Regions from separate parts of the Homo sapiens genome. Here region 1 is linked to region 2. Evidence: promoter capture Hi-C in human tissues and cell types (Jung and others, 2019). All regions are on one chromosome and are shown on one strand. The core of a region is centred on a gene start or on the middle of the fragment in contact, and the rest is flanking DNA. Distances in the headings are between cores, read along the strand shown.

What was found. Contacts are between HindIII fragments. The study calls those that stand out against the background at their distance.
Region 1: a contact is called between a fragment that was not itself captured here and the fragment with the promoter of PRSS12 in region 2, in 2 of the 25 tissues and cell types used here (adrenal gland and mesendoderm cells).

What each region holds. Positions count from the first base shown.
Region 1 is chr4:118,586,751-118,590,429 of GRCh38, forward strand. No RefSeq gene overlaps it. Among named protein-coding and RNA genes, the nearest start is that of METTL14-DT, 97 kb to the right of the region's middle. The HindIII fragment of the contact is 7,643 bases long and covers 1-3,679 here.
Region 2 is chr4:118,351,599-118,355,371 of GRCh38, forward strand. PRSS12 (serine protease 12) reads right to left here and starts at 1,405. Exons shown (of 13, transcript NM_003619.4): 1 at 621-1,405. The coding sequence starts at 1,122. RefSeq lists an enhancer at 1,150-1,995 and silencers at 1,262-1,341, 1,372-1,631. The HindIII fragment of the contact is 10,666 bases long and covers 1-3,773 here.

The DNA of each region.
Region 1 (3,679 bases), core at 1,178-3,677, 240 kb after region 2:
TTCTTCTCCTGGAAATGGCAGAAACCCAAGAGGGAAAAGTAAAATACATTGTAGCCTCTGAAAGTTTATGCACAGAACCAGCAAACCATCACTTTTGCCCCCATTCACTTAGGCAGAGGCAGTTACACGGCTAAGCCTGATGTTATGAGTAGGGGCAGTTTACATCTTGAGTGGAAGGAACTGCAAATTTACGTGGTAGAAATTATGGATTTAAGGAGGGATGAAAAATTGGGGACAATAGTTCAATCTACCACTGCTAGTAAATTTATGATCAAAAGCAACTTTTTGTATTTGCTGGAGGGCAGAATTCGGAAAATGGGGATGCAGGACAGTTTCAAGGTGACAGTGAATTACCAGCATCATAGATTCATTAGGAGGCTTAATATAATACTAATTACCAGCTCTATGTGCTGATGAAGACTGCTTTTGATAATTCGTAACATTTGACATTCTTTCATAAGCCAAATAGAAGAATATCGAAGGCCAATTGTAGTTTTACACACAGTAAGTAAACAAAAGAATACTCAGTCCTCACATTTTGCAACTCTGTGGGATTTGTGTGAGCAGTGAAAAGTTGTGGCTGCCCGCAATCACACATCTCCCCTGGAGAATTGAAGTGAAATCCCAGCCCTCATGTAGTTATGCCTAGAAATTACCTGTTTGTGATTTAACACTTGGTAAATGGCACTAAAACCTCATTAATCTTCAATTAGCCATAAATGGGCATCTCACATCTTACTACAGTTTCTTCATCCTGAGAAATCATTAGTCCTTTCTGGGCAAGGGCAATTATGTGAACAGGCAGAAAGCTCATCGCATAGCTTAAGTGCAGGTCTCCAGTCCATAATGGTACTTAAGACGTGGGGGCTGCCTGTGATTCTTGATTGATGCCGTGTGATAGCCTGGGCCTATTCCATCACGCCGTGATCCTCAGCACGCCTCCATCCCCAGGCTGCTTTTATCAGCTTGAGTGTTCCAAAAATCCCACTTCCTTGATTACTTCAGAGGACTGTTGCAAGGATAGAAAGGGTATGTCTGTTATTATTGGATCAGGATGTGTGTGTGTGTGTGAGGTGGGAGAAATCTGAGTCCCTGAATCCCCTGGAAATAAGAAATTGAAAATGCATATATATTCAGAATTTAAGGTATAAAAGGTAGAACTCTCCTTTAATCCAGTAGCACAAAATCCTCAATGTTCCTTGCATCTCTTGTGAACTCGATGGCCCTTGAATGACCTAATACATGTCTTGGTCCATCTTTTGTTTTTTGAGATAGGGTCTCTCTCTGTCACCCAGGTTGTAGTGCAGTGGTGTGACCACAGCTCATTGCAGCTTCAACCTCCTGGGCTGAAGCGATCCTCCTACCTCAGCAGGGAGTCCCTCAGCTACTCAGGAGGCTGAGGTAGGAGGAAGTTACATGGCCAAGCCTGAAGTTATGAGTTGGGGCAGTTTACATCTTGAGTGGAAGGAACTGCAAATTTACACAGTAGAAATTATAGATTTAAGGAGGGATGAACAACTGGGGCCAATACGGGACTGCCTGTAGTCCCTCAGCTACTCAGGAGGCTCAGGTGCTAACGATGTGCACCACCTCAGCCTGTAGGGACTGCAGGCATGCACCACCATGCCTGGCTAATTTTTATATTTTTTTGTTGTAGAGAGAGGATCATCTTATGTGCTCAGGCTGGTCTCAAACTCCTGGGCTCAAGCCATCCGCCTACCTCAGCCTCTCAATTGCTGGGACTGCAGGTGTGAGCCACTGCATCTGGCCCTTGTTCCATCTTTATGGCTTTTAAAACATCTTCTGAACACTTAGAACTTGCAGCCCTTATTGTTACAGTGCTGTGTGTGTGTGTGTGTGTGTGTGTGTGTGTGTGTTTCCTACCTGGCTTCCAGAAACCCAGCTCCTAAAGAGAAGTCCCCCAGCCCCTTCTGCTGCCAGCTGTTCTCTGCTGCGGGCCTGTCTTCATCAGGTGTTCCATTGACAGATGCTGCTTTTCTCCCCTCAGACCACCAGGGATGGCTCTACGGTTGCATCCACTGGAGATCAATTGAAGTTGGTCTGGATCTCACAAATGGAGTCCCTTTGCCACTGTGTCTATGAAGGATTCTGACTGCTGCTTTCACCAGTTTTCAGCACCACTAAAACACTTTGTTTCCTAATTAAGCTGTTTCCAGGTCTTTCCTGTCTCACAGTGGAAAATGACCTCTGGGCCATCCCTAGGAAAAAACATGTGTTACCACTGAGGTTTTTCCTGCATCAGACTGCATTAACCTCAAGAGCTCATGCTTGGATCATCATCCTTTTAAGGCAACTAAAATTCAAGTTCATTAACTATCCCATTCTATTCTGGCTCATTCTGCAGTTGGTCAACCTTGTTCTTTCTTAGAGCAGATACCCTCACCTCTTTCCTTGTGACCATGGGTATTGAGGGGAAGTTCTCTACAGATGGAATCTTTCTTTAGCATTATTTAGTGGGTTTGTATTCTCTTGTAAGTCTTTTTATCCCCTCTCCATTAAAAAGCAGCTTGAGCTATGTGTACGTGGTGAATTCATCACAGTGTTCTGGCAGGATTTCCAAATACAGGGAAAGGTGATTATAAAACAATTCCTTATGTGATAAACTTGGATAGACCGCCCACAGACACATTTTTGATTGTCAATGCTAATTGGGACAAGAAAGAACATGGGTAATTGAAATTCTCTGCTATCCCACAAATGCTATTTTAGTTGCTCTGGTGGTTTTTTAATGTGTCAGTTTAGCTTGGTTGAATTACATTTCCCAAAATTACCTTTCCTATTGGTTTTTGGTTGGGATGGGCCACAAAACAGATTCTTCCAGGAGATTTGCGGGGAGCAAGGAAAGTTGCAGCCATTGTGTAGCTCACACACCTTGTCACTCATCTCCTGGCTCACCTTGTTCGCATGAGGCAGGGGTCAGGCCTGCAACTGCTCCACCCTCCCAAGCCTGCCTCAGCTTCTCCCACTCCTGGGTATGTGTTGAGCTCTTGGATGGTGTTGGTTACTGCAGGACGTTCAAGGTCACCATCAAGCTCAGATGCAGCAAGAACTGAAAAAGACTTCGGTCCATTTTTGTGGGCTCCAGCTCAGCTCCTTATTGTGGTTTCACGTTGCTCTTCCTCTTTTTTTTTTTTTTGGAGACAGAGTCTTGCTCCGTCACCCAGGCGGGAGTGCAGTGGTGCTATCTCTGCTCACTGCAACCTCCGCCTCCCAGGTTCAAGTGATTCTCCTGCCTCAGCCTCCTGAGTAGCTGGGATTACAGGCATCTGCCACCATGCCCGGCTAATTTTTACATTTTTAGTAGAGACGGGTTTCACCATCTTGGCCAGGCTGGTCTTGAACACCTGACCTCATGATACACCTGCCTCAGCCTCCCAAAGTGCTGGGATTAGGCGTGAGCCACTGTGCCTGGCCTGCTCTCTTTTAATATCCATCTTTCCTTTCTGATATATTAATAGTTTGTATACTTGTCCCACCCAAATCTGATGTTGCATTGTAATCCCCAGTGTTAGAGGTAGGGCCCGGTGGGAGGTGACTGAATCATGGGGGTAGAATTCTCATGAATGGTTTAGCACCATCCCCTTGGTGCTGTTCTCACAGTAGTGAGTTCTTGCAAAATCTAGTTAAAAGTGTGTGGCACCTCCCCCCATCCTCTTGC
Region 2 (3,773 bases), core at 155-2,654:
CTCTTTTCCCTTTCTTTTTTTCCAGTCACTGATGATACTTACCATACTGAGCTGGAGTATGTGAATATGGCTGATTTTGGCCACATAATTTTGCCATACTTTTTAAAACAGAGGTCAACAGCTAAATTAAGGCAAAATTTTACCACATTTTTAAAAATCGGAGTCTAAAGAATGGAGGGAAGGTTATTGATTGCCACGTTAATGTAACATTTCCCTTTCCAGAACAAGTAATTATGCCTCTTTAATGTAAATATGGTAACCCACTCAACGTAAGCTAATCTAGAGAACAGACGCCCAAAGCACACTGTCACCCAATACACGAGCGCACACACACACACAGTGGCCAGAGGACAGAGCAAATTCAGAAACCCAGAGCTCAGCACCTTGCATAGAACTGTCACCCCTGACAACCTTCACACAAGCACACCTGGCTGGCTTAGATTTGCAGCACCAGTATACCTTACTGGTAACCCAGCTGCAGCCCACCATCACAGCCCGCAAACGCAAGCCCACAACCCCACACACCCCGTCACTTTTTCCAAGAGACCTGTACGCCGGCCCCAAGCCTCACTGGCTCCGAGCCCGTCCGGAGTTTCCGCGGCCGCCCCGAGGCCACTAACCGTGTCTGCAGTCGCAGTAGCCCCAGTCCACCTTGCCACGGGCGTCTCCGTAGAAACACCAGGGTCTGCCCGCGCCGTCGGGGCTCCGACAAAAGTTGTGGCGCTGTCCTCGCAGCTGAGCCCAGCTCGCTGGGGGCGACCGCTCCAGGAAGGGTGGCACCTCCGCCCACCGCAGACACGGGGCGCCGAAGTCCGTCACGCTGACCCATGGCTCGCCGGCGGGGCAGCCCCAGGGGTGCGGCCGGGGCGTGTGCCCGGCCTGGAGGGCGTGCGGGCGCTGGGCAGGGAGCGCCCGCGGGGGGCGCGGGAAGCGCGGGAGAGGCGGCGGCGGACGCGTCCTCGGGGGCCGCTGCTGGGTGGGAAGGTAATAGGGGTAGTGCGGACCCGCAGGGGGCGAATGGCGGTGGCTGTGGTGGAGGGAATCATTGAGGACAGAATCAAAGCCGACCACTTCGGGGAGCGCCCCTAACATCAGGGCTAGCACGAAGCGGGCGAGCGTCATGGTGCCAGCGCTGCGGGGTCTGGTCCATGCTCCCCAGCTTCTCGGGCTTGGAGCGGAGAAGAGGAGGGGGCGGGGGCGGGGCTGCCGCGTCCCTCGAATCCCCCAGCCCCCTCCCGCCCCCGCACGCGGACCGCCCTCGCCTCCCCAACCTTGCCTCCCGCCGCTGGTGCCCTGCCGCGCCTCGGCTCCTGTCCCCTGGCGGCGGCCGCGGGTGGGGAAATCTGGAGCTCAGCCGAGCCCCGGCCGGCGGAGAGGACCGGAAAAGAGAAGGCGCGGACGCAGCGGGGAGCGGTTGGGCCTGAGCCCCAGGTAGCGGCGCAGGCACGAGCCCGGGAACTCTGCCCCCTGGGGGCGGGCGCCGGCCGCGCAAGCTGCTCCGGACCTACGCTCGGCCCCTGCCAGGCCCACCGCAGTCCGCCCGCACGGCACTGCCAGCTGCTGGGACCGAGCCCGAGGGTGCCCGCGCGGAGCACGGTCTTGGCTGCCCCTTGCCAGCATGCAGCACCAGCACAGCCCGGCGTTGGCGGCTCCCAAATCTGGCACCGGCCCCTGCCGTCATCTCTCCTCCAACCTCGTCGCCCCGTATCTTGCTTCCTCTGTTTTGAAATCTTTACCAAAGTATGGATGGATTTAGATGCAGCTCTTCCCTGACAACTCCCAGGATAAAAGTTATCAAAACCCACGAGGAATGTTAAAGCCATTTCACTGAACTATACGCTCTTCAAGGACAAGACCACGTTTTATTCAGCTTGATATCACCGTGCTTAACACCGTGCCCCAATAAACATTGGCTGAAATTAAAATCCTGAACCGACTCAGGGAAAGGAGCTTGAGCCTTTCTGCTTCCTGCCTCCCACTTTCCAGCCGGTGCCCTGGACAACACCAGTTGTTTGGTTATTATTGGGATTCAGTGAGGCTCTCTTAATACCAAATTTCCTCTCTAACCAGAGAAGACTTCATCCGTCCCGGTTTCCATCCTATCCAAAAAGTCCACCCCCCTAGCACCTGCCTCGTTTTTTGCAGGGCAAGGGACTTCTGTTAAGCCTATTCATTTGCCTCTCCAGAGACTCTGCCTGCTGACAATTTTGAAGCTTCACTGTTGGCTCGACCTCAGCTTAGTAGGGCCCTTTCAACACTCCTCGCCCCCCTCCCGCAGGCTCCAAAAAACTGTTGGCTTAGAATCTTAAAAAAAAAAAGTTACTGGAGCTGTATGTTTTAGTATTTTGCCTTTCAGTTGTTTCTGACTATGCTACCAAAGTTTGACAAGGAGAAGGAAGCCCGTAAAGAAGGCAACATTTTATTTTCTGGCATGGTCACGTTTCGTTGTGAAAAAGCAATGCTGTCTCATAATATAATGTACCCTGAAGAAAACTTGAACAAAATTCAAATGTTTATTGTTAAAACCTAGGTTTCAATTAGGAACTGAATTAATTCACTACTAGCTTTAAATAAGCCATCTTTAGCCGGGCGAGGTGGCTCACACCTGTAATCCCAGCAGTTTGGGACGCCCAGGCAGGCGGATCACATGAGGCCAGGAGTTCGAGAACAGCGTCGCCAACATGATGAAACCCGCCTTTACTAAAAATACAAAAAGCCGGGGGAGTGTTGGCGCACGCCTGTAATTCCAGCTACTTGGGAGGCTGAGCCAGGAAAATCGCTTGAACCTGGGAGCAGAGGTTGCAGTGAGCCGAGATCGTGCCACTGCACTCCAGCCTGGGCGACAGAGGGAGACGTTGTCTCAAGAAAAAAAAAAAAAATCCATCTTTAATTTTGTGGGTCGTTTTATTGTTTTTTGTTTCACTCCTATTAATGAAATATTTGATTTTACTTTAGAGAGAATTGGGTAAAAGAAATGATGTTAAGAGTCCAGGGATGTATTTGTCAAATCTTTATTCAAGTTGTTTTCATTCCAGTTGTTTTTACCCATTATTTTTTTACTAATACTTTTCTGGCTCCAAAAGCATAGTTAAATCTATACTTGTGGAAGACAATGAAAGATAAAATATATATCTGGAGTAGTCTATTTGTTCATTTTAGTGAGGGTTGGCAGAGCTCATCAATCACAGATTTTTGAAATAATAGGTGACAGTTCTATCAGGGGTCAGCCCTTTTTCTTTCTGACTAGCTTTTCCACCTTAGGCTACACACCTGATGGCCCAGGGAAGGCTCATTTTAGGACTGTGGGGAGGCTGCTTGGACCCTGCTCCCTCCCCTTCCCACATTGACCCCTACAATCATTGCTTCCATGCTTCCTGGGGGTCCAGAAGCAGACCCAATTTCCATGCATCTACATACCTTGCAGACAGGAAAATAATGAGAGAGAAGTGAATAAAACAGAAGACTGTTAGATCTGAGCTCCAGAGAGGAGCATGGCCTCAGGCAGTCTGGCCTCTCCTCCACTTCCCTGTACTCTGAGGCCACTTAACATTTAACAGACTATAAAATTGACATACACAAAGTGGAGTTACCCACAGAAAATTCCACGTCCGGATTTCATCATTTAAGTTTTAAAACATACTTTTCTTAGAAAATATAAGGGCATTTATGTAATTATGATTTGAGGGCCTTGGCTTGGGTTTTGCCTTCTATTTGACAGGAAAAGTGTGTCTTAAATAGCTCTCTTCTTGACATGTTAGTCCCCTCCTCTGCTA